Linked DNA regions of Homo sapiens: regions 1, 3, 4, 5, 6 and 7 are each linked to region 2. Evidence: promoter capture Hi-C in 16 types of primary human blood cells and fetal thymus (Javierre and others, 2016). All regions are on one chromosome and are shown on one strand. The core of a region is centred on a gene start or on the middle of the fragment in contact, and the rest is flanking DNA. Distances in the headings are between cores, read along the strand shown. Region 1 holds the start of MED10 (mediator complex subunit 10). Region 2 holds the start of FASTKD3 (FAST kinase domains 3). Region 3 overlaps SEMA5A (semaphorin 5A). Region 4 overlaps SRD5A1 (steroid 5 alpha-reductase 1). Region 5 overlaps SEMA5A (semaphorin 5A). Region 6 has its middle 18 kb from the start of MED10. Region 7 overlaps NSUN2 (NOP2/Sun RNA methyltransferase 2).

Region 1 (3,271 bases), core at 69-2,568, 1.5 Mb before region 2:
AAGCCAGTAACAATAAAATTCCTGGGGGAAAGGCAAACACACAGGCATCTGGTTAATTTCGCTTGACAGCATAAGCACCACCCACAGAGCTACCCAGCCAACCGGGGCTCCACGCAAGTTCGTTCTCCTCACAGCTATGCGGGTTACACACGGTTCTGACCTCTTTGGTTAGCTACAGGATTCCTAGGACACCGTTAGAGTTACAAAATACCCTTAAATATTTGTTACTTTCCTTCTCAACTAGAAATTGCCAGTAAGGGGGATGGAGAGGGAACCTGATGAAAAATATGAACCTTCTCTCAAAAACAATTACCTGACTGTGCATATGACTGTGTGTGCGGTTTCAGCGAACACATGAGGCAGCGGACTATACTCAAAGTCTGAGGGAAAGAAAGCCATACTGTCTGGTTTAGCTTCCTCTCCTCTCTGGAGCCTTCCTACAGCATCAGGCTGGTCTGGCTATTCCCACAGCACTAGGTATGGAACCTCGAGTGCAACATTTTCTATGTCCGTGCCACATATAAAGCCCTTCTCGAAAGTGCTGTACTTGCATTTGCCTTTTCTCCAACCCAGGGCCTAGCAACATGGGCAGCACAAGGCTGTTGCCAAGAAATAATAATAATAAACGTTCTGCAACCTTTCTCAGCACCACCTCCCCGCTATTTCCTCCACTGTCAGGCCTATGCGGCAGGTGGCTTCGGAGCCTCACCTTCTGAGGCCTAGTTTAGGGCGTGCACTCACTGTGGAGCCTGCCTCCCCTCTGGAGACAGGGACTGAATTCCCAGAAGGGCTCCAGGAGGAAAAGGCTGGGAGGGGGTTACACATGAGAGGGGAGACGCTAGAAGAGAAAGCATGATTCCCTTGATAGGGAAACGTAAAGTATATCATCTGGCCATGACGACGTCTCCAAAGGGGCCTCAAAGAGGTTGGCTCTTGGCAACAGGCTGGAGCGCGGGCCCCGCCCTCTGAACACAGCCAGGAAAGGCGCCCCGGGCTCCGGGACCAGACCAGAGGGCTGGCGGGGCACGAGTAGCGGTCAGGCTCGGCTCGGGCTCCCTAGATCCCCGCTCCCCTAGCACACGCTTCCCGGCCAGGCCCTGGGGAGACCCCGGCAGCCTCGGGCCGCCACTCACAGCTTTTGGTTGAGCCCGGCCTGGCTGCTGGGCTGGAAGTCACTGACGATGATGCCGAGCTGCCGAATGTTCTCCACGAACTTCTCCAGGTGCTCCTCTAGGTGGTCAAACTTCTCCGCCATCGCCTCGGCCCGTCCCCGACCCACACAGCCTCAACCAGCAGCGCCGCAGGCGTGGCCCTACGCTCCCGCTTCCTGCTTCCGTCCGGACAGATACGACTTCCGTTTCCTCTGGGGGAGCGCGGGCGAGCTCTTGGGGGCGGAGCCTCGTTATCGGGACGGGCGTGTTGGGGCGGGGCCTAAGTGCGGGGCAGGGCGGGCTTTCGGGGATGCGGTCTGGATTCTGGAGGAGGCCTCGGCGCGCAGCTGGGCGAGTACTAACTGTTTGCACTCTCATCAGACCTGCCTCGGTCATGGGAGAAGTTGAAGACTTTCTGCAATGCAGCATCTTCAAGCAATACACACATGGATGAAAATCCTAAAGTTTGCATGAAGGACCAATAACGGTAGTTTCCCTGCCCCTCTACCAGAACCCCTGGGATCAGCGCCTGCCTGCCTCCTTTCTTCTATGTAATCGGCGGCCACCTCCCCTAGCTCTTGCTGCTAACCATGCTTCCCGGACACCTGCTGCCTTCGTAGGTCAGGGTCTCACCTCCTCGGGCCAATTCTGACCAAACAGCACCCTGTGGGGTTGCCCTGTCTTAGTAAACTGCTGTTTATCTCATTGAAATTCAGTTTAGGTCATTTCACTCTTATGTTTAAGAAACTTTTCTGCCCGATCTCCTATGATAGCGGATATCTCCTCTAGCCTGTTTGAATTTCTCAAGTGATTTATTTTACTGAATATATTTGTGGCCTGTACTTTTCAGTGCCTAGAAACAGGCAAAGTGAGGGAGCTCCTTTGCTAGATGATCTTCAGAGCCTCTCCCAGCTGTGACCAGAAATGGAAAGCCAGAGAAGGTAAGTGACTTGCCAAACTTATGGAATCAGGGCACTCCAGTTGGTGGGCTGGGCTGATAAACAGAAATGTTACATAAAATACTTCTCTCCTGATTTAACAACAATTAACTTTAGGGAATTATAAAACAAGATGGAGGCTGGGCGTGGTGGCTCAGGCCTGTAATCCCAGAACTTTGGAAGGCCAAGGCAGGTGGATTACCTGAGGTGAGGAGTTCGAGACCGACCTGACCAATATGGAGAAACCCTGTCTCTACTAAAAATACAAAAATTAGTCAGACATGGTGGTGTGCGCCTGTAGTCCCAGCTACTTGGGAGGCTGAGACAGGAGAATTGCTTGAACCCAGGAGGCAGAGGTTGCAGTAAGCCGAGATCATGCCACTGCACTCCAGCCTGGGCAACAGAGCAAGACTCAAAAAAAAAAAAAAAAGGTGGAAATAAAATATTAGACAAATAAAAAATTTTAAGTTATTAGGTAGAGGTAGCGACATGGAGTGAACGGCCTTTCTCAATTTCATAAGTAAGAAAGATAGATAATTGATGGAACTTAGGCTTTGGTAAGTATTTATTTTAAAAATTTAAGGGTATCTCTTTGCTAGTATATATAATTCCCAAACTAGTAGACAGGGGGAAGGGAATAAAGAAAACACAATCAACTCAATAGAAGGCAAGAAAAGAAGAGAATAAAGAAGCAAAGAACAAGCATGGAAAATAAAACTCACAACGTAAAGTGCAAAAATTAAAGGCACACGACTCAACAGCAAAAAAGCAAAAGAAGAAATTTATAAATGGGCAAAGGACCTGAACAGATACTTCTCAAAAGAAGACATAAAAATGACCAGCAAAAATGCTCAGCATCACATATCATCAGGGAAATACAAATTAAAAGCATAATGAGATGTCACCTTACACTGTTAGAAGGGCTATAATCAAAAAGACCAAAGACAATGGGTGTGGGTGAAAATGTGGAGGAAAGGGAACCCTTGTACACTGTTGATGGGAATGTAAATTAGTGCAGCCTTTATGGAAAATAGAATGGAAGTTTCCCAAAACTCTAAAAACAGAATTACCATATGATCCAGCAGTCCTACTTCTGAGTATATACTGTGAACCCTGAATATCTGAGACAGTTCTCAGTTAATTTAGAAAGTTTATTTTGCCAAGGTTGAAGACACACACTCA
Region 2 (3,132 bases), core at 633-3,132:
AATGCTTGACTTTGATCAAGAACCACCAGGGCAGTGAGCATTTGGCTAATCAATTTAGGACTCAGGTTGGAAACTATTGATAGGGAAAAGTTGTTTATCTTATTTAAAAATGTTTGGTGTTCATCCACTTTTTCAGTACATGCCTGCAAGATTCTATAAAGGGCCACAATATCCTCCGGGGTAAATGTTTCCAATTTTTCACCTTGAAGTTGATTTATAATGAGTTCTAGTGTCACACAACCTGAACTGTGCAGTGTAATCAGACTTTCCCCAAGAATACAAAGATTGCGAACTTCCATGCCACCTTTTCTGAGACGATTTTGGCATTCTGCCACCAGGTTCAGCAACAGGCTACTTTGAGGATCCACATGCAACAGAATCAGAGCTTGCAAAGCAGTCACTAAACTAGTGTTTGACAGCTGTGAGGGCTCCTTTTCAAACTGAAAGCATAAAGCTTGAAAGATGCTATTCTCCAGTATTTCTTTTGGCAGCCCTTGATCACCATCCTTTTTTTCCACTTCACAAATTCGTTGTAAAGCTCCTGCTGCCATAGTGTCAGGCAGGGTTTCCATCGTGCTTATAAAACTTAGCACTTCTTCTGATGAAGTCAAGTTGCTCAGTCTCCTGTAAAACATCTGACTCTCCTCATTTTTAACATTTTGTTCAAGCCTGTCGCAGTCAGATACTTGAGAGAACACTGGTCCACCGAGTGGATGAAGGTCATTTCCATTTTTCGAATGAAACTTTTTACAATGGGCATGATGGAATTTGACCCCGAAAGGCTCAGGTTGTCGTGAACACAACCAAGGGCACAGACGCTCCTTGACTACCTTGTGAACATGATTTAGAGGTTTATTTTTTAAAGCAGCCAGAGCTCTATGCATCTGAAAATCAGATAAACGATAAAGGTTCTTCCTCAAGGTGATTAATGCCATACCATCAGATTCTCAATTTGATAACTAAATTAAAAAATTTAAAAACACATGGTTAAATACATTGAGAACATGATTGACCCAACATCAATGTTTATGAAACTACAAACGAGTATCTGGAAAAAAAAAAAAAAAAAAAAAAAGGATGGTTAACATATAAACACCAGAGGGGCAAAGTCTCTGCATCCTAGAGTTAGAAGAGTGGCTGACATTGAACAATAACAATCGCTATTACTTGCTAAACACTGTTGTAGGTATTCTATTAACTTACACAGATTCAGTACTTTTACTATCATTTTACACGAGGAAGAAGTTGAAGCACAAAGTTACTTTGCCCAGTTTATGCAGGTGGTTAAGTGGCAGAGCTAGGGTTCAAACTCAGGCAATGTAGCTCTTAAGGGTGGCCCTTAAATGTTGGTTGAAGGAAGAAATTGCATTTGGATAGAAATCAAAGAACAGGTAAAGTGGGCAAAATTAGGCGAGGTTAGAGCAAGGCAAGGGTAAAAACGCGCTGGAAAGGCCCTAAGCTGTTGGTTTCCCCTCGGTGTCGGGAGAAGGTTAGTGTTGAAGGAAAGGGTCTACTTTGTCAATGGAAACAAGGTAGGAAAAGAAAAAGCAAAACATAGATCAATGAAGGGAGAAGGTGGGGCGGCCAGTCCAGATCTAAAGACGGTGCGGGGGGATTTGGCAACACGTGTGTGCAAGACAGACAGACGGGAGGCCCCGCGGCGCGTTTTCCTAGGAATGAAAGGGACCCGCGGGGCGAGCACCCCCAAACTCGGCGCCCCGGGGACCTGCGCTGAGACACGGGCCGGGCGGCGCAGCCTGAGGAGAAAGCCGGCCAGGTCTTTGACACCCAGCCGGACCAACTGCGCGGAGACCCCGCGTTGACACCTACCGCGCTCTGCCGGGCAATCACTCCGGGTGGTCGCGGAAGCGCCTGGGCGTCGTGGGCCTCCGTAGCAAACGCGGGGCGGGAGCACGACTCAGGGCGGCGCAATGTGATTGGCCCAGGTCCCCTTCGGAGCTTTCTATTGGTCCTGGGTACCGAGCATGGGCGCTGCGTCAGTGCGCGCTGGCGCAAGGTTGGTGGAAGTCGCGTTGTGCAGGTTCGTGCCCGGCTGGCGCGGCGTGGGTAAGCTGCCTGTCGGCTACGGTTCCCGGATTCCGGCCGCTCGCCCTGCACTAATCTCCTGGGAGAGGCGGCCCGGGGCGGGGGTGGGCAGCCGGCTTGCGCCCGTGGTTCCCACGCCCTTCGGCCTCCGGGGGTCGCCGCGGGCGCGGGCTGGGGCTCGGACTTGGCCTTTGGCCTTTGGCTTTGGTGTCCCCGGGAGCGTGTCCTTGGGCTCGGCGTCGGCCTCTGCCGCGGGAGGCCCCTGGGCGGCGTGGGGTCTCTCCTCATGTTCTGCCTTTGGTTCTAGGCGCTTTCCAGGCCTAGGGAAACCGCACTCGGGGACGCGGGGAACTGGGGAACATGCCGGGTTGGGGCGGCGCGCTCCGGGGAACCCGGGACGTTCCGAGCGCCCACCCGGCGGGACGCGGCCGTGAGTTCTGCCCGCGGCCGTGAGCTCTGCCCACCGCCTCCGCGCCGCTTCCGGGGCTGCTGGGGCCCGGGCCTCCGCTGAGAGTCGTGGGAAGGTGGTGCCGGATTGTGGGGCAGTAGCAGGGATGAGGGGTTGATTGATCCTGGGAAGCCCTCAGGATGTGTGTTTCATGGGAAGTGATAGAAATTTTAGCTGTAGTAAGGTTTTCATTATCGTTTCCACCGTTTTCTGTGAGCTGTCAATGTGTAGTGTTTTCATATTGTTTATTCACTCATTCAGATAACTTATCGAGTACCAGTTTCATGCCAGGTGCCGTTCTGGGCGGTTCATTCACCGAAAGCCAAGCTTTTGGTTTGGGTTTCAGTTTAAATCTGTCTCTGCAAATTGACAGCCCACCAATTTTAGCCGTTAGATGAGTATGGAAAAAAATCTGTGAGTGTCGTTTGTTTTACTACTGCTTATCTCTTGCGGAAAAACGTGTTAGTAAAATGTTTAAGTGGATTGGAAATATTTTTTCGTTATATGCACCCGTTTGTATATATGCCCATACACTCACATATTTTTGATTTGCATTAAATAATGAAGGAGAGTATGTGCTTCAGTTACCTTTAGTACTATGATTAGTTTGTTTAGCGTTAGGATCAAATAAGAACCAA
Region 3 (3,015 bases), core at 298-2,797, 1.7 Mb after region 2:
ATCCCTTACCCAAAATGCTTGGGACCAGAAGTATTTCAGATTTGGGATTTTCTCAGATTTTGGAATATTTGTATTATATATATTAGCATTTTTAGGGTCATGTCGGTGCTCAGAAAGTTTCAGATTTTGAAGCATTGTGGAATTGGGATTTTTTGATTAGGAATATTCAATCTGTACACAGAAATTATATTTATGCTAATCTCCAAGTCATGCAAGGTCGTCAATTCATTTAACAAGCACTGACTTACTGTGCAAATTGTTGTGTATTAGGAACTAGGAAATATGCAGTCCCTCTCCCAACCCTCCACCTGCCAGTTTACAAAGACATTTGTATTTTAAGACTGTGCTAAAAAATCAGTTTGGAGGCATTTGGAACATTTTTCTCTAAATAAAGAATATAAGTAGTTTTAGAGTCCATGGTTAGCCCCCAAAAGTCTTGCTTAAGCCTTAGTCCTTTCTCTCAGTATACTCTATTGCAGTCTATACTATATACATAGTCTCTAAGGGCATTTTTTGATTCGGTCACTTACCCAAGATGGCCCGAGAGCCTCCTGCGTGCCAGGCACTGTTCTAGGCAGCGTGGGCAACACAGCTGCGAACAAAACAGTCTCATTGGTCTCCTAAGCTGACATTCTGTATCAGTGAAAGACTTTAAGAAATAAAGGCAGTGCGTGGAGTTCTGCAAAATGATATGGAGAGAAGGCCGGGCGCGGTGGCTCACGCCTGTAATCCCAGCACTTTGGGAGGCCGAGGCGGGTGGATCACGAGGTCAGGAGATCGAGACCATCCAGGCTAACATGGTGAAACCCCGTCTCTACTAAAAATTCAAAAAAAAAAAAAAATTAGCTGGGCATGTGGCGGACACCTGTAGTCCCAGCTGCTCAGGAGGATGAGGCATAAGAATTGCTTAAACCTAGGAGGCAGAGGTTGCAGTGAGCCAAGATCGCGCCACTGCACCCCAGCCAGGGTGACAGAGCAAGACTCTGTCTCAAAAATAAGAAAAAAAGAAAAGAAAATCAGTAGTTTTACAACAAACCTAAATCTCAGTCCTGTAAAAGGAGTCACGGAAGCCAGTTGTGATTCTAAAATCCATTTGTTTACAGGATGCCCAACCATAAATGTCCCTGGCCTCCGAAGCGTTCTCTTTCCACAGCAGGTTTGGGGGCACTGGCAGGAGTCAGCTGCCTTGGTAGCTGGCTCAGAACAGCTTTGGGGGCCCTCTGCAAGACGTGTCACATCTCCGGTTTTGTTTTGTTTTGTTTTTACAGAAAGAAAAGCTCTTTGTGTGGAATTTTATTTGAAGTCACTTTGTGAGGAATGCCATCTCTGCTGTGATTCAGGAGAATAGAAGTTTCGGTTTTATGATTTTGCAGACAGATCACAGGAAACTGCTTAGCAAATTTTTTCTTAGTTGCTTTCCTTGACTCTGTTTTTCTTTCCATGAGTACATCATACATCCTTGCCAAACATTGGGTGGATTTGAACTGATTGAAAGAGGCTCGATTTTCTGTGAACGATTTGTCCTTGTGTTATCCTGATTGTCACTCGCCTATAACTTACTTAATTTCACGTCTCAACAAATATAGTATTATTTCACCCACAGAGTTGGCTTCTGATAGAATCACTCTACTGGTTATTTATCATACATATCTGTAATTGAATTACCTATTGCAGTAGTGTAATTTACTCTCAATTGTACATAAAAATGTAACATAAAATAACATTTTTCCAGTGTATACTTCCTCATTATTCTACATGAACCCTAGTTTAGCCAATTCTACAGAAATACAGTGACAAATAATGAGTGAAAGATGGGAAGATAAAAGATTAGTGGGCTCATGACCTTTCAATAATAAAAGAATTTCATCCTCTAAAAAAATTATTCTCTTTTAAAATAGTTTTTTTTCCCCAAGTGTTAATCAGGAAACCAATTCTAGGAAACCAATAAGGAAAAAAAGAGTTTAAAAACAGAATGATTTTCTTTTTTCCAAATGCAGCAATACTATGTCACTACATTTTAAAATGTAGGAAAGGGAAATAAAGTGTGCTTGTCTTTGCTCTTGTCAAACAACCATTAATCTTGGACCAAAAAAGAAGAAAGAAGATGACAACAGCAATTCCTTTGGGAAATTTTTCTGTTTTCTTGATCCACTGTTGTGTCACTCCTACTTTAAATTTCATGCACAAGGTGAAATATGACTTGTCTTTGAAGTTGCCTGGCTTCAAAATACTCTGTGAAATGGACAGCCTGGTTTCCTTAGCTATACAACCTTTTAGATGGCAAAGACTGTCAATACTAGTATGTTGAAATAAATTACCTATTATCCAATACCTTCTCTTGGGTCAAGTTTTCATTTGTTTTGTTCTATTTTGCTTCAATTTTGAATCGAAGCAAGTTTTGAGCAGGTTCATTTATATTGAAAAGTTTATGTATATTCTAGCTTACTTTAATTTTGCTTTTTCTTCTTTTCTCCCTATCAGAAATTGATTTTGTATATCTGGATAACCAATTCTTAAAAAATTCATCTGAAAAATATGCTATATATTTACCAAGCGTACCCATATCTGTTTCTCCAAAGTGCTTCCCAGCAGCCACATCTCACCTGCTGAATTTATCCCCAAGTTGCTCCCAATCTATACAGGAATTGGAAACAGGAGATTGCCCCCTATCATTTCTGCAGGGTAGCAGAGTGATAAAAACCTAATTTTCAACCAAACTTCTGCATCTCAATTTTAAAAGGTTGCTGAGAACATATGTGAAATTATCTATGTTGTCAACTGTACTCAAGACAACTGAAAGTACTTATAGACGCTCATTTTATGATTCAAGAAAACAGTTAACTTTCTTGGTATAAATTTGCAAGTAGATGCAGGTGAGCAGAAATGTACAATGCTTCACTTTAGACACTTTGTACTTAGTTGTAACTCAATTTGTTAGACACCATAATTTACATTTTAAACATTATTTAACACATAAAAACTTGTCACCTTGGTATAATTATACCCCAAGCAATT
Region 4 (3,297 bases), core at 162-2,661, 1.2 Mb before region 2:
ATGAGTACAGGACAGTCAGGTCAAGGAGGGAGGAAAGGTGAAGGAAGGGATAGAGGGAATGGTGCGCTTTCATGTATTTATTCAGCAAACACTTAAGGAAGACTTACGTGCCAGTGAGGATTTCTGGACCTGGCGTTGTGCTGGGGATATAGTGACAAGACATTCCCTTTGAGTTGAGGAGTAAAAGACAGGTTATGGAGAATCTATGGGGTCTTTTGGACACAAACACCAGGGAGGGAAGGACAGGCTGCCTGGAAGGGGACAGGGCTGGGGTGGGGGGATAGCCATGACGCAGGACGAGCTGTGGTCCTGACCAGTTCCCCCAGGAGGGCAAAGGACATTTTCAGGAACATCTTTAGGGCTCACGGTAGCGACAAGGATTGCCTGCCTCCTATCTGTGCTGAAGCCTCCTTCTGATCCCAGGGCGCTTGGGTTCTTGGGTGCAGGGGCGGCAGCGTCTCACTGGGGCCCTAGTCATGTAGAGCATGGAGTGGCGTCTGGCATGGTGGCAGCCCCTGGAGGCAGGTGCCTTCCCCAGCCTCCTGGCAGGCCTCCCTAGGGCCTTCCGAAGCCTGTGCCTACTCCTATCACCTTTGCCCTCTGCTCTGTGATTACAGTGACGCCCCGCTGCATTTACCCTGTTCCCTGGCCCTCTATTTTGTCTCCCTGGGCTGGTGCTGTAACCCAGGTCCTCATCATCTGTGTTGGTTCTTGCTGGGCTTCTTCACTCTTCCCCACTGGTCTTTCTCTACCCTCGTTTGTAAATCCTGCTTTGCTAGACACAGCAAAAGTCTCCCGGAGTCAAGGGCATTAGCTCTGAACTGTGTCGGAGTCGCTGGGGGGCTTTGCAGACTGTGCCTGACCTCATGCTCTTTCTCTCCACCCACGCAGCTTTGTTCAGTATTCCCTGAACCCAGGCTGCTTTGCTCATGGATTTTCCTTCCCCACTATCAGCAGTGAATTAGTCAGGGGATTGTCTCTGCATTGCACATTCATTTAACAAATAACTCCGAGGAGCCTGAGCAGGAGGTGCCGCTTGCCACGGGAGTCCTCAGTGACTGCCTTTGTTAGGACTGGTGGCCAAATGGTGCCCAGAGTGCACAGTCAGATGCCCAGAGGCCTCCTCTTTCTGACACCTGTCCCAGGTTTGTACTCAGCCAGGTCCATGACCTTGTGGGACTTTGCTTCTGTCTTTATCTCTGACGATGGTGCCTCAAAACATTGCACCTACTTTGATTCCTTGTATCTCTCGTGTAATCCTATTAATGGGCTCCTGTGGGGAGCCTAGCCCAGCTTCACTTTTAAATGTGCGGTGGGTAATGTTAAAACACAGCAGGGAACTTTGAGGGTGAAGTGTGTTAAAAGATAAACTCAGGTGCATTAAAATTGTAGTTTTTTTAGGCTGGGCGCAGTGGCTCATGCCTGTAATCCCAGCACGCTGGGAGGCCGAGGAAGGTGGATCACACGAGGTCAGGAGATCAAGACCGTCCTGACCAACATGCTGAAACCCTGTCTCTACTAAAAATACAAAATTTAGCTGGGTGTGGTGGCGCATGCCTGTAATCCCAGCTACTTGGGAGGCTGAGGCAGGAGAATCGCTTGAACCCAGAGGTGGAGGTGCAGTCCAGCCTGGGCAACAAGCACTAAACTCCATCTTAAAAAGAAGTCATAGCGTTTTTTGGAGCAGACCAATTCATGAATCAGCACCAAACCACAAGCAGTATGAGCTCCACCTAGAAGGTGTGTGGGAAAGCCATTTTGTAAGACGTGTTTGCACAAGCAAGACAAAGGAAGCATTTGATTGGTCAGAGTGGAAAGTTCCGGAGGTTAGTGGGTGGTTTCTCCTTGGAACAATCTCTCATTAGAAGTCAATTGGCAGTTTCTGATTGCTTTAAGTTTCCTTCCACTGTTGGGTTTCCATGTGCTTATGTAAGACACAAGACACCATCTCAGCCTGATGGCCTTCTAATTAATTTGTTTTAATAAGGGCATACTGAATCCTTGGCCCTTGCCTCATAGATTGGAATAATCTGAGAAAAGAAAAACTTCTATTCAAAAGTGTAGGATGATGAAAAGTGAAATAATGATAGCCAAGCACTTATTTTAAGCATGCTTTGTTGGCAGCTGTGCAATTTGGCCATCATTTCAAAAGTCTTTTACAGAAGGAAAGGCTAGGTGAAAGGAACAGACCCAAATCTAGGAAGTGCCATAGATTTCAATGGTCTCACGTTGTTAGGGGAAAAAAGCAATAAAGTCGATCATTAAAATTAACCACTCTCAGTTTTAAACATTTAAAAATTATTAAATCCACCATGACCTAAATTACTCCCATATAACCAAATTCTCTATTTCATTGTTCCCAAACTTGGGGGTACAACATTATAGGTTGTCCTGAAAGATGACGTCCAGACGCTTTGAGAGTCAAATCATTTGCTGAATAAATGCCTTGTTGTTATAAGTAAACCAAGGGATTATTATTCCAGTTTGTTGGGAAAATATTTCAAGACATACTTCTTTAGTTCCCTGTGTGAATTAAACAGGCATAGAACTTGCTTGCAAGACGACAAAACCCAAACATCTTACTTTAAACGCTTTAAAGAATAGTCATTCCAAGTAGTTGCTTGCATTTTCATCCTCTGGAATGCATACTGTGCTATATTTTGAGTCTTTCCCCTTTGGAGCAGGTCCCATCGAGCATATGAGTATGAACAGTTATTTACCAGTTACTTGGGTTTATACTGTATGGGTAATTCTGCCCGTTTGAATAGCTGGAGAAATCACTCAAGTGCTGCTTAGGAGCAGACGTTTGAGAAGCTCAGAGTTCTCAGTGCCCTTGTGTGGGTGCCACCCCACAGCCCTCGCGGACAGTAAGAATGGACATGGAGGCAGCCCCGATGATTTTGTTCTTTTCAATAATCCATTTTTCTTCCTGGGTGCTTATAGGGCACTTTCTTTTTCCTTAGATGGATAATCTGTGTTTGCTTGTTTATTAATTTCGCCTGATTTTCTCCAAGCCTTTTTAGGAAATTGAATTTAGCCCAGGAAATTGAATTTCTCCGTGTCTCTCATTCTGTCTGTTCTGAATGTTAGGTGCCAGGACTTAAGATACTTGTCAATATTGTATGTGAACAAACTTACAGGTGAAATACATGCTTGTTGTAGAAAACTTAGAAAATAATTCAAGGAAAGAAAGAAAAGTTGCCTATAATTTCATCTTAGAGATAAAACTGACGATATTGTGGTATTATCTTTTTCCCATATCTTTCATTGCTTTTAATAAGTTTTTTTCTAAGCAGT
Region 5 (3,109 bases), core at 438-2,937, 1.3 Mb after region 2:
CCACACAGTGCAGGTCATGTTGGTCAGGGAGTGAGACTGCATTTGGAAACACATCATGCGGCCCTACACTGATCCTTCAGGATGAGGGTGGACCCCTGACTGTGTGACCTGCCATTAACTCGGGAAACACAGTTTCTTGAAAAGTAGAGCCTCTTGAAATTCGGCTAGCATCCTGTTCCTTTTTCAAAGACAATGAAAAAGTGGGAATAATTGTAAGACAGACAGTCAAATAGCTCTTATATTTATTGATATAAATTTGGAAGTAGGGGATGTTAGAGTCTTGCCAGGCAGGATGATAAGATGAATTTTGTTTTCCTTCCATTATTTAAGTTCTGTCTTTTCTCAAAATGCAATCCACCACAAACTAGTATCTGTCACTCCTGAGTGAATTGAACAAGTCAGAAGGAAAATCAGGTATTTTCTTCTTGTCTACAATGGATAGGAGTGCATGAAAGAGAGATCTGAGGTATGTTGCTAACTAAATCACAGTAAAAACAGGCACGTCAGCTGCTGTGTAAACATATGCATGGAGAAACTGTTTTTTCTAATGTTTGTAAAACATACTGAGTTATGTATTACCGTGTTGTACAAAATATATCATGTTAATAAGAATTCTTCTTCATGATATAAGAACTTTTATTTTGCATATTTACTTACATAATAGTGACCATACAGATAGGACTACCGAGAAGTGACTCACCATATATGTAATTACAAGTGATGCGAAGAAAAACATCAAAAATTTTGAGATTTCGACCACGCAAAACCAAATACTGAGAATCCAAAAGAAGCCTCCCATTCTATATTCTTTCTATTCCAATGCCTAAAGCATCAATATGGGGGTACACCATATTCAAATGGCTCGATCTGATCATTGAGCAGATCTTTAATAGGTTCTTGATATAAAAATATTTGTACACAATGGGAATGAATATTAAAGGCACAAAGGAATCCCAACTCTACAAAAATCTTACTAGAATCAAAGTCAATTATAAATTATTTTGCAGTCAAAAGTCGCCTTGTGAGACACTTGCCAAAGTCAGGCTGGAAAATGCCTGTACACGATGCCTGTGACTCTGCCCTGGTTGGACCATTGACATCTGATATTTTCTGTTGTTGCATCTGACAATCAGACCTAGTTTGCAAAGCTGTGAAAATTAAATGGGCTGATACATAGCAGGATGCCAATAAATGGTGGCTATTATTATTTTGGCATCGTGTACAGGCATTTTCCAGCCTGACTTTGGCAAGTGTCGCACAAGGTGGCTTTTGACTGCAAAATAGTAGCCACCATTTATTTACTCTCAATGTCCCTTGGAATAATTTCTGTTGAACAGAACTTCACATAATGATAATGAATGATCAAGTGTATATATATATATATATATATATATATATATAAAGCTTAAAGGTCATTAGAATTTTAGGAGCATAAATAAGTCATACTGAGTTTTGTTTGTTTGTGTTTTGAGACAGAGTTTCTCTCTTGTTGCCCAGGCTGGAGTGCAATGGTGCGATCTCAGCTCACTGCAACCTCCGCCTCCCAGGTTCAAGAGATTCTCCTGCCTCAGCCTTCCAAGTAGCTGGGATTCCAGGTGTGCACCACCACACCCGGCTAATTTTGTATTTTTAATAGAGATGGGGTTTCTCCATGTTGGTTAGACTGGTCTTGAACTCCCAACCTCAGGTGATCCGCCCACTTCAGCCTCCCAAAGTGCTGGGATTATAGGCATGAGCCACTGCCCCTGGTCTACCATGCTGAGTTTTTAAATAGCAAGCTATTTCACAAAAATAAGATGAGTTAACGGAAACAATATTCAGATGTGACACACAGCCAGCAGTTTTCTGTTCCTAAATTGTTGGTATCAGTCAGTACAAAATGCCTTCCATAAGCATTCCCTGATTTTAGACCCTCTCTGTATTGGGTACATTGTTTCCATTGTCACAGTTTATGTAGATAAAACTGCTGTAGAAGCTTCCAGGGCAAATCTATTTTTATCTAGATATTCATTAAAATTAAAAGCGGATAACTTAAAATTAAATTAAATTAAACATAGGTTAAAAGCTACTGGTAGGCTAAAGTTCTTTTCCTGAGGTTTCTACTAAAAGACAGATGATGATAGATAGATAGATAGATAGATAGATAGATAGATAGATAGATAGATACATAGATAGATAGATAATAGATAGATTTTAATAGATGGATGCGCACATTTGTGTCTGTGTATATGTGTGTATCACATACATGAGTATAGAGATATATGTATACATGGCTCAATACTTCCACCTACTGGCTGTGTGAATTTACTCACATTATTTACCAGTATATTTTCTCTGTTTCCTGTTTTTGAATAACAACAACATCCAACATACAGTATCATTGTGAGAATCAAACGCACTTTGCTGGTAATCATCAAAATACAGACCTCTATTTATTAAAAATAACTCCAAAAATTAATATAAACACAGATGTGAGTAAATAGTATCAGTAATTAATAAGATAACTCATTGAGTATGCATTCCGTATATCAAATTAAGATCTACACTTATTCCATCAAGCCTGAAACCAAACACAGTGGCAGGGACCATGCTACAGACGAGCCTGGAGCCGGCCAGAGTACTGCTCTAGGCATTTCCTCACTGCCTCAAGGGGCTGTCCTGGGCACTGGGTGCTCCTTAGTAAACTGATAGACACAGCCCGTGCCCTCAAGAGCAGTGTGAGGAGACAAACAAGACAGATCAACAAGTGCTTACAGTGAGGACAAGGGTATGGAGGGCCAGGGCAGCTGGGAGAAACAGAGGATCAGAAAGGAGAGAATAGGGAAAGGGCAGAGGTGAGGCTGAGAAGGGGCCACCCAGACAAGGATGGGGGAAGAGAACATCCCTGCCAGAAGGAGCAGCCTGGGAGAAGACCATAAGGCTGGCAAGGAATGGAATGAAGCCACAGTCAGGATCAAAGAGATCAACAGGACGGGAGGTGGAAAGCCAGGCAAAGCCAGGAGCCCATAACAAGGAGTATGGATTTCAACTGCCATTGGAGAGACACCAAAGAGTTTTAAAGAAAAACTTATCACTCCGTTTCCTGGGTGTGTGGTGTGGGATGGGGTAG
Region 6 (3,079 bases), core at 224-2,723, 1.5 Mb before region 2:
CATGATGAACCAAAGCAGACACTTCCCCGTGCCATTTCTGGGAGGGCTGATTGGTGACACTTTTTTGGGTCACAGTTTGGTAATAATTAGCAACATTTAAGTACACATAATTCCATCTTAAGAAATTAATCCCAAGGGACTCCACAGATGCCAGTCCAGGACAATGAACAATGGCATACCCCATGGCACTGCTGGCATCCTAGAGTCTAAGCACATTGCGGCTCCTCCATGCCATGGGCACCACCGACGGGCCTGCCAGCCTGCCCCTGCTGACAAAGATTTGCAAAGGTATTTCAAACGAAAAAAGCAAAACCCTGAAGGGTGTGTATAATGCGATCCTCTATGTATTTTTCTAAGCACAAACCTGAATATTACGCGTAGAGGGCATCTGGTCTGCCTGGGAGGATGTCCATGGTTAAAAACACTGAGGCTGGGTCTGGAAGCTCTGCACCATTCACATTTTTCACCATGAAAAACAAGTGTGCGAAACAGCAGTGTTAAGTACGCTATCTGCTTTTGCTCGCTGCACAAAAATAACATTTGTACAAACAAAAGACTATTTAAGCTTAACAAGAGCAGCAATAAAAAACAGGTCCAAATCGATCCTGTGTATGCCCAGTTTCTGTAATGGAGGGCTCTGTGCTGAGTAAGCTCTCTGGTTTCACACTGTGCACAGTTAATAAATGGTTATTAATAATAGCAATGATAATGGCCTCCACGTGCTACTGAAATGCAATTAGTTTCACAGTGGAGCATGCTACACATCTGAGGATGAACATTCAATTTTCACTCACATCCCAAACTTTTAAGTGGTCAGACCAACAGTTTGCATAAAAGGCCCTCCTGTGTGTTGCACTGTGTCTTAATTTCATAACTCGACCGCACCCCGGGCCCCAGCTGCTGCTTTTGATTAAATCAGTGGACGACTGTATTAACATCCCTTTGGGACTCTGACACTCCAGGCTGCATGTGGCTGCAAATTAATAAATGCTGGGGCACAAAGAGACTGCCCAGAGGGCACCTTAAAATACGTGCCTCTTCCCCTAACATATCTTGGGAGAAAAAGAAGCGTCCCTGGAGGGTTGATGGGGTGGACACGCAGAGTGAGCACGGGAGCGCAGGCAGGGAAGGGACCATCTCTTCCTCATCAGCAGCCCCTCTGCAGGCAGGTGGCTGAGAAAGGCACAGGAAAAGGGCTCAGGGCGTTTTCAAGAGGAAGGCTGGGCAGGAAGGAGAGGGGAGAGAGCTGGAAGGAGGAGGCAGGATGTGGCAGGCCCTGGGGCCGTCTTTGCATCGAGCCACCTCCCCCAACCTTGAGAAGAGGAACAGGAGGTTAGGAACAGATGATGGCCCATGAAAAGGTGAAAATAAACTAGCTGTGATGCGTTAAAGAGGGTGACGCCTACGAGTCCTGCAGCCACTGCAGGCAGAGGAGGCCCTGCTTCCCTGACCCATCTGCCTGCGGCTGCAGGTGGCACCTCACAGTGGCTGTGCCTCCCAGGACTCCAGCTTGAGACTCGGGAATCCTCCCACCTGGAGAATCGGGAAGACTCCTGCTTGCTTTTCCAGTCGGATTATTTACCTCGGTCCCGCCAGCATCTATGCCCTGACTTGAGACTACTCTAGGCAGAGGCGAAGGTGAGGCCAGCCAGGGAGGCAGCAGCCGTGGATGTGGGCAGGGCCATGGACGGACAAAGCAGCTCCTCTGCAGCTCCCGGACGCAACCTCTGGTGAGCACTGTCACCAACCATGCCATTCCTCAGCACTCCCAGAGGGAGCCTGCAGACAGCCCCGCGTGGATGGCTGCTGCTTCTTATTCCAAACTCTGTCTAGACTGAGGCGCAGTGCTGGGCCTTGCGCTCATCAGATAAACTAAACTTGAAAACTCACAATGACGCATCCGGGGTTTAAATTTACTTACATGAAATTCAATTTTTAGCCTTAAGTCACTCCTACAAAGTAAGTTTCTACAGGAAAGGGCCAACATGAGCACCCAGTGAATGGAAATCCAGGCCATCCTCATCCTGAAGGTGCCAGAGCAGGCCCCGCCGGCTGCCTGAGAGCTCCCATTCCTTGTCAGTCCCCTCTGCCCCTGCCTGCCTCAGTTCTCTGCCCCTGCCTGCCTCTGTTCTCTGCCCCTGCCTGCCTCAGTTCTCTGCCCCTGCCTGCCTCTGTTCTCTGCCCCTGCCTGCCTCAGTTCTCTGCCCCTGCCTGCCTCTGTTCTCTGCCCCTGCCTGCCTCTGTTCTAAGGACTGTAAGAGCTAAACCTAAGATCACTCGACTCCCTCGTAATCGGGGGCGGGGGGCCATGCGACAGTGTTCTTGTCCATGAGATGTGAGCAGAAGTCCATGAGAAAGACAGCCCTTCCAGAATAAAATGGCAAAGCTTCCACAGGAGAAATCTTTTTGCCCGTCGGCCTTTGCCCTCCCTCTATGTTATTCCTGCCTGGAATGCAAACGTGATGCCTGGAGGTGCAGCAGCCATCTTGTAATGTGAGGACAGAACCCATGCTGAGGATGGCAGAGCAGACAGGTGAGCCTGGGTCCTGGCTGATGCCTGTGAGGAGCTACTGCTGTCTGGGCAGACAGCTTAGCATTGCTGTTGCAGGAGAAAAATTAATTTCTATCTTTGCATCTCATTCTTAGCTGAACCTTTCCTAATTTGCAGCAAACCTACATGAAACAGTAAAGGACAATCACAGTTAAAATAAATACAACACATATGTGTAAATATACGTTTATAATTATTTTTGGTGCATATTTAAATTAAGGGAGAGAAGTTACGTAAAATTATTTTCAAAATTTTAAGGTATGATGGACATTATTATCCTGTATAAGATGGCTCACTCCTAAAAAAACCTGGAAAACTTCAACGATAGTGGAAAAACAGAGACGCTTTTTAATCCATCATGAAAAATCCTAGCACAAGCCCAAGTGGAAACACTATTCCCCAACAGAAATGCAAAGGCAGAAAAGCCCCCTGAAAGAGGGATCCTAGCAGTCAGCCTTCCTCCTACTGAAAGAGGGATCCTAGCAGTCAGCCTTCCTCCTACATGACTGCCTTAATTGTTGGGCAGTA
Region 7 (2,952 bases), core at 453-2,952, 1.3 Mb before region 2:
TGTGACAGCCTCTCAGCAGAGGAAAATTCAACAAATCTCCCAGAAAACATGAAAATGGGACAATTACAAAAACAAAGGAAAAGAATCTCCAAGGTGGAGGAATGGCAGTAAGAAACCTTTGAAGCAAGCATCGTACTGACTTCTGCCATCATTTCTGAATCCTCTTCCTTTTAAAAGCTAACAGTAAATGACAGTGCAGGCAAACATGCGGGCTTCTCCATCAAACACTGTCCAGGGGCTTCACAGATGAGCAGGGCAGGCAGCAGGTGTTATCTCCACACCCCAGCACCTGGGTTGGAAGCTGCCAATGCTACCCCATGTTGCCCCTTCTCCAGTAAAGTTGTTGAGCACTTTCAGGTGGGGAACGCACACCCCCTCCAGTCAAAATCACCAGCAACCACCCACTCTAAGGCTCAGCCAAGGTCTGCTCCTTCCTGCATAAAGCCATATCCATGCACACCGCCTCTGACAGAGAAAAGGGAGGAAGCATCTACAATACGGTCTGAAGCCACCCACATGCAAAAAGTTGGCTGTGACATCATACTGTACACAGGTCCATGCTGGAAACCCACCTGTCCAGTAAGAAAATGACTACAGAATAGGAGACTCACTGAATGAAGTAATTCATTTTTGACACTTGCTAACAGGAAAAACTACTATGACATATTGGAATGTTAGGTGAAAAAGCAGGGTATTTAAGATATACACAACACAATCAAAACTATTCAACACAGTGAAGACTAGAGGAAAAGTTGCAAAAAGCAATGCAGTTACTTGAAGGAAAAGAATCCATGTACTTTTTTTCTAAATATGAATGCCCTTATACTTAAAACCCACTGGCCAAACGGTGCTGGCTGTTCTTTGAAATCTCCTATGTGGAGGCAGAAGCCAGCCCCTGACCAAGAACTCCCTCCACCCCCAAGGTATCTCCCCTGGCATCTCAGAAAGCTAAAATGATTCCAAAATTTGAATAAAGAACCTGAGCATACTGTCTCCTTTCTTGTCTTGCAGTGAAGCTTGCCCTTAGAACAAAGCTCAACTGCATGCCATAGTCTAACACCTTCTGTGACCTGTGACAATGAGGAGATAAGCCTCATTTTAAAGGTAAGTATCTGAAAGCATATCATCTGCTCTATTGGTAATAAAGGTGCGATTTTGGCCTTGGTCTGCCTTGCTCCATTACCTTGTCAATTGGTTCAGAAGCTGGACAGGGAAAGAGGGTGTTATTTACTGGGCTTTCAAAAGAAAGCCTGCCAGGCCAGGCATGGTGGCTCACACCTGTAATCCCAGCACTTTGGGAGGCCGAGGTGGGAAGACTGCCTGAAGTCAGGAGTTTGAGACCAGCCTGGCCAACATGGTGAAACCCCGTCTCTACTAAAAATACAAAAATTGGCTGGGCGTGGTGGCACATGCCTGTAGTCCCAGCTACTCGGGAGGCTGAGGCAGGAGAATCACTTAACCCGGGAGATGGAGGTTGCAGTGAGCCGAGATGGCGCCACTGCACTCCAGCCTGGGCAACAGAGCGAGACTGTCTCGGAAAAAAAAAAAAAAAAAAAAAAAAAAACCCACAACACACACATATAGACAGACATAAAGCCAACTAGAGCCACAAATTTGGTGAAGTCTGAAAAGATCTGCAAGCGTTCACTCAGAAAACCAGCAGTAACATTCTAAATACAAGAAAAAGAACCAGCCAGCCAGTCTGAAAATCAGAAAGACCAATGAAAATCCACAATCAAGAAAGGTTTCAGACCGGATGAAGACGAACCCATCAGTACCCCAGGACAATCCCACATCTGCTCATCCCTCCTCACAATCCTGATCACCAGCATTCCCGTTTTCTTTTTCACCCTGCAGCTCTTCCTCACTCCCCCGTGCCTGGGTCACGCTTGCTCATTCTTAACTTTCGAACATGGTGCACTGTGTGTGAGGTTCTGTCCACTCTTCCCTTAGAGATCAGTGGGTTTTCAGGAGAATGATGGTTCCCCACTGCTGCTGGAAAGAGAGACCCATGGGAATGAGAACTAGAACTTGGATTCAACCTGCTTTCAGATGACAACCCCTCACGAAGCCACTCCTTCAAACGTTGGCACGTTCAGGAAATGGGTGAGGGTGGCAGAAGCATCCAGAGCTCCAGGCAAGTAACCCGGTCTGACAGCACAGCCAGCCCACAGAGCACACAGCATGTTCTCTGAGCGGGGACAATTTTGCGGTAATGAGACAGGCAAACAGCAAGTATCTCCAATGTGAGGAAAGAAAGCCCGGTGGACTCAGGCCAGCAAGTCCTGCCTGCAAAGAGTGACTCCAGCCACGAGTGAGGACAGGCTTGTGTGGACAAGAGCCTCTCTCACCTAAGAACTCAGGAGACCTGGCTTTTGGTCCCAGCCAAAAGCTTACAAGAGAAAAAGGAGCAAAATTAAACACCTAGAGTACTTAACTAGCCAACACAGACTTAGGAGAGTAGCAAATGCTTAAAGAATCTACAAACATTTGAAGCTAAGCAGCACAAGATGGGGCTGTGACCACTCACCCCAAGTCAAGAAAGCTGCTCACCGAGAAACCGGGGGAAGCTGTCTTTACAAAAGACAAAGAGCACCAGCCAAGAATGCAGTGAGTGCGCCCAGGAACTGGGGCCCACCCTCAAGTCTGAGTCGTAAATGGCAACTAGGCATGCAAATTAATAAATGCAGTCCATTTTCTTTCTCAGGGATCTGAAAGCAGACTGTGGCAAGGGAAACAGGAGGTGTCTGTGCTGCTCAAGCTGCCTGGAATCATGGTTTCCTAAATTCCTAGCTAATGAACACAAAAATCTGAGCAGGATTCAACAGTCCTAACAACTGACCCCAAATCACACTTGAAGGTGTAATTTCATTACAACTAAACTATTATGTGCCCCATACTCCCCCTCACACACCTTTTGGAATAAAGTATCACCAACACCATGGCAATTAT

Evidence for each region. Contacts are between HindIII fragments. The CHiCAGO score rates a contact against its expected background, and 5 or more counts as called.
Region 1: the fragment with the promoter of MED10 here is called in contact with the fragment with the promoter of FASTKD3 in region 2 in 9 of 17 cell types (activated CD4 T cells, naive CD8 T cells, naive CD4 T cells and 6 more); the score reaches 20.0 in activated CD4 T cells.
Region 3: a contact is called between a fragment that was not itself captured here and the fragment with the promoter of FASTKD3 in region 2, in 1 of 17 cell types (non-activated CD4 T cells). The highest score is 7.5, in non-activated CD4 T cells.
Region 4: a contact is called between a fragment that was not itself captured here and the fragment with the promoter of FASTKD3 in region 2, in 13 of 17 cell types (total CD4 T cells, naive CD4 T cells, naive CD8 T cells and 10 more). The highest score is 18.0, in total CD4 T cells.
Region 5: a fragment that was not itself captured here is called in contact with the fragment with the promoter of FASTKD3 in region 2 in 3 of 17 cell types (erythroblasts, endothelial precursors and M0 macrophages); the score reaches 8.7 in erythroblasts.
Region 6: a contact is called between a fragment that was not itself captured here and the fragment with the promoter of FASTKD3 in region 2, in 5 of 17 cell types (total CD4 T cells, activated CD4 T cells, non-activated CD4 T cells and 2 more). The highest score is 10.8, in total CD4 T cells.
Region 7: a contact is called between a fragment that was not itself captured here and the fragment with the promoter of FASTKD3 in region 2, in 8 of 17 cell types (naive CD8 T cells, activated CD4 T cells, total CD4 T cells and 5 more). The highest score is 11.9, in naive CD8 T cells.

The regions. Positions count from the first base shown.
Region 1 is chr5:6,377,229-6,380,499 of GRCh38, forward strand. MED10 (mediator complex subunit 10) reads right to left here and starts at 1,319. Exons shown (of 4, transcript NM_032286.3): 1 at 1,134-1,319; 2 at 1-21. The coding sequence starts at 1,255. RefSeq lists enhancers at 1,054-1,263, 1,554-1,773. The HindIII fragment of the contact is 6,030 bases long and covers 1-3,271 here.
Region 2 is chr5:7,867,149-7,870,280 of GRCh38, forward strand. FASTKD3 (FAST kinase domains 3) reads right to left here and starts at 1,883. Exons shown (of 7, transcript NM_024091.4): 1 at 1,831-1,883; 2 at 1-1,048. The coding sequence starts at 935. MTRR (5-methyltetrahydrofolate-homocysteine methyltransferase reductase) reads left to right here and starts at 2,000. Exons shown (of 15, transcript NM_002454.3): 1 at 2,000-2,067. RefSeq lists silencers at 1,893-2,332, 2,343-2,392, 2,453-2,502. The HindIII fragment of the contact is 2,367 bases long and covers 453-2,819 here.
Region 3 is chr5:9,539,607-9,542,621 of GRCh38, forward strand. The region is part of intron 1 of SEMA5A (semaphorin 5A); the gene reads right to left. Among named protein-coding and RNA genes, the nearest start is that of SEMA5A, 5.0 kb to the right of the region's middle. The HindIII fragment of the contact is 4,663 bases long and covers 1-3,015 here.
Region 4 is chr5:6,636,657-6,639,953 of GRCh38, forward strand. The region is part of intron 1 of SRD5A1 (steroid 5 alpha-reductase 1); the gene reads left to right. Among named protein-coding and RNA genes, the nearest start is that of SRD5A1, 4.9 kb to the left of the region's middle. The HindIII fragment of the contact is 4,539 bases long and covers 1-3,297 here.
Region 5 is chr5:9,205,734-9,208,842 of GRCh38, forward strand. The region is part of intron 8 of SEMA5A (semaphorin 5A); the gene reads right to left. Among named protein-coding and RNA genes, the nearest start is that of MIR4636, 150 kb to the left of the region's middle. The HindIII fragment of the contact is 571 bases long and covers 1,403-1,973 here.
Region 6 is chr5:6,358,834-6,361,912 of GRCh38, forward strand. No RefSeq gene overlaps it. Among named protein-coding and RNA genes, the nearest start is that of MED10, 18 kb to the right of the region's middle. The HindIII fragment of the contact is 1,821 bases long and covers 564-2,384 here.
Region 7 is chr5:6,612,559-6,615,510 of GRCh38, forward strand. The region is part of intron 9 of NSUN2 (NOP2/Sun RNA methyltransferase 2); the gene reads right to left. Among named protein-coding and RNA genes, the nearest start is that of NSUN2, 19 kb to the right of the region's middle. The HindIII fragment of the contact is 1,376 bases long and covers 1,015-2,390 here.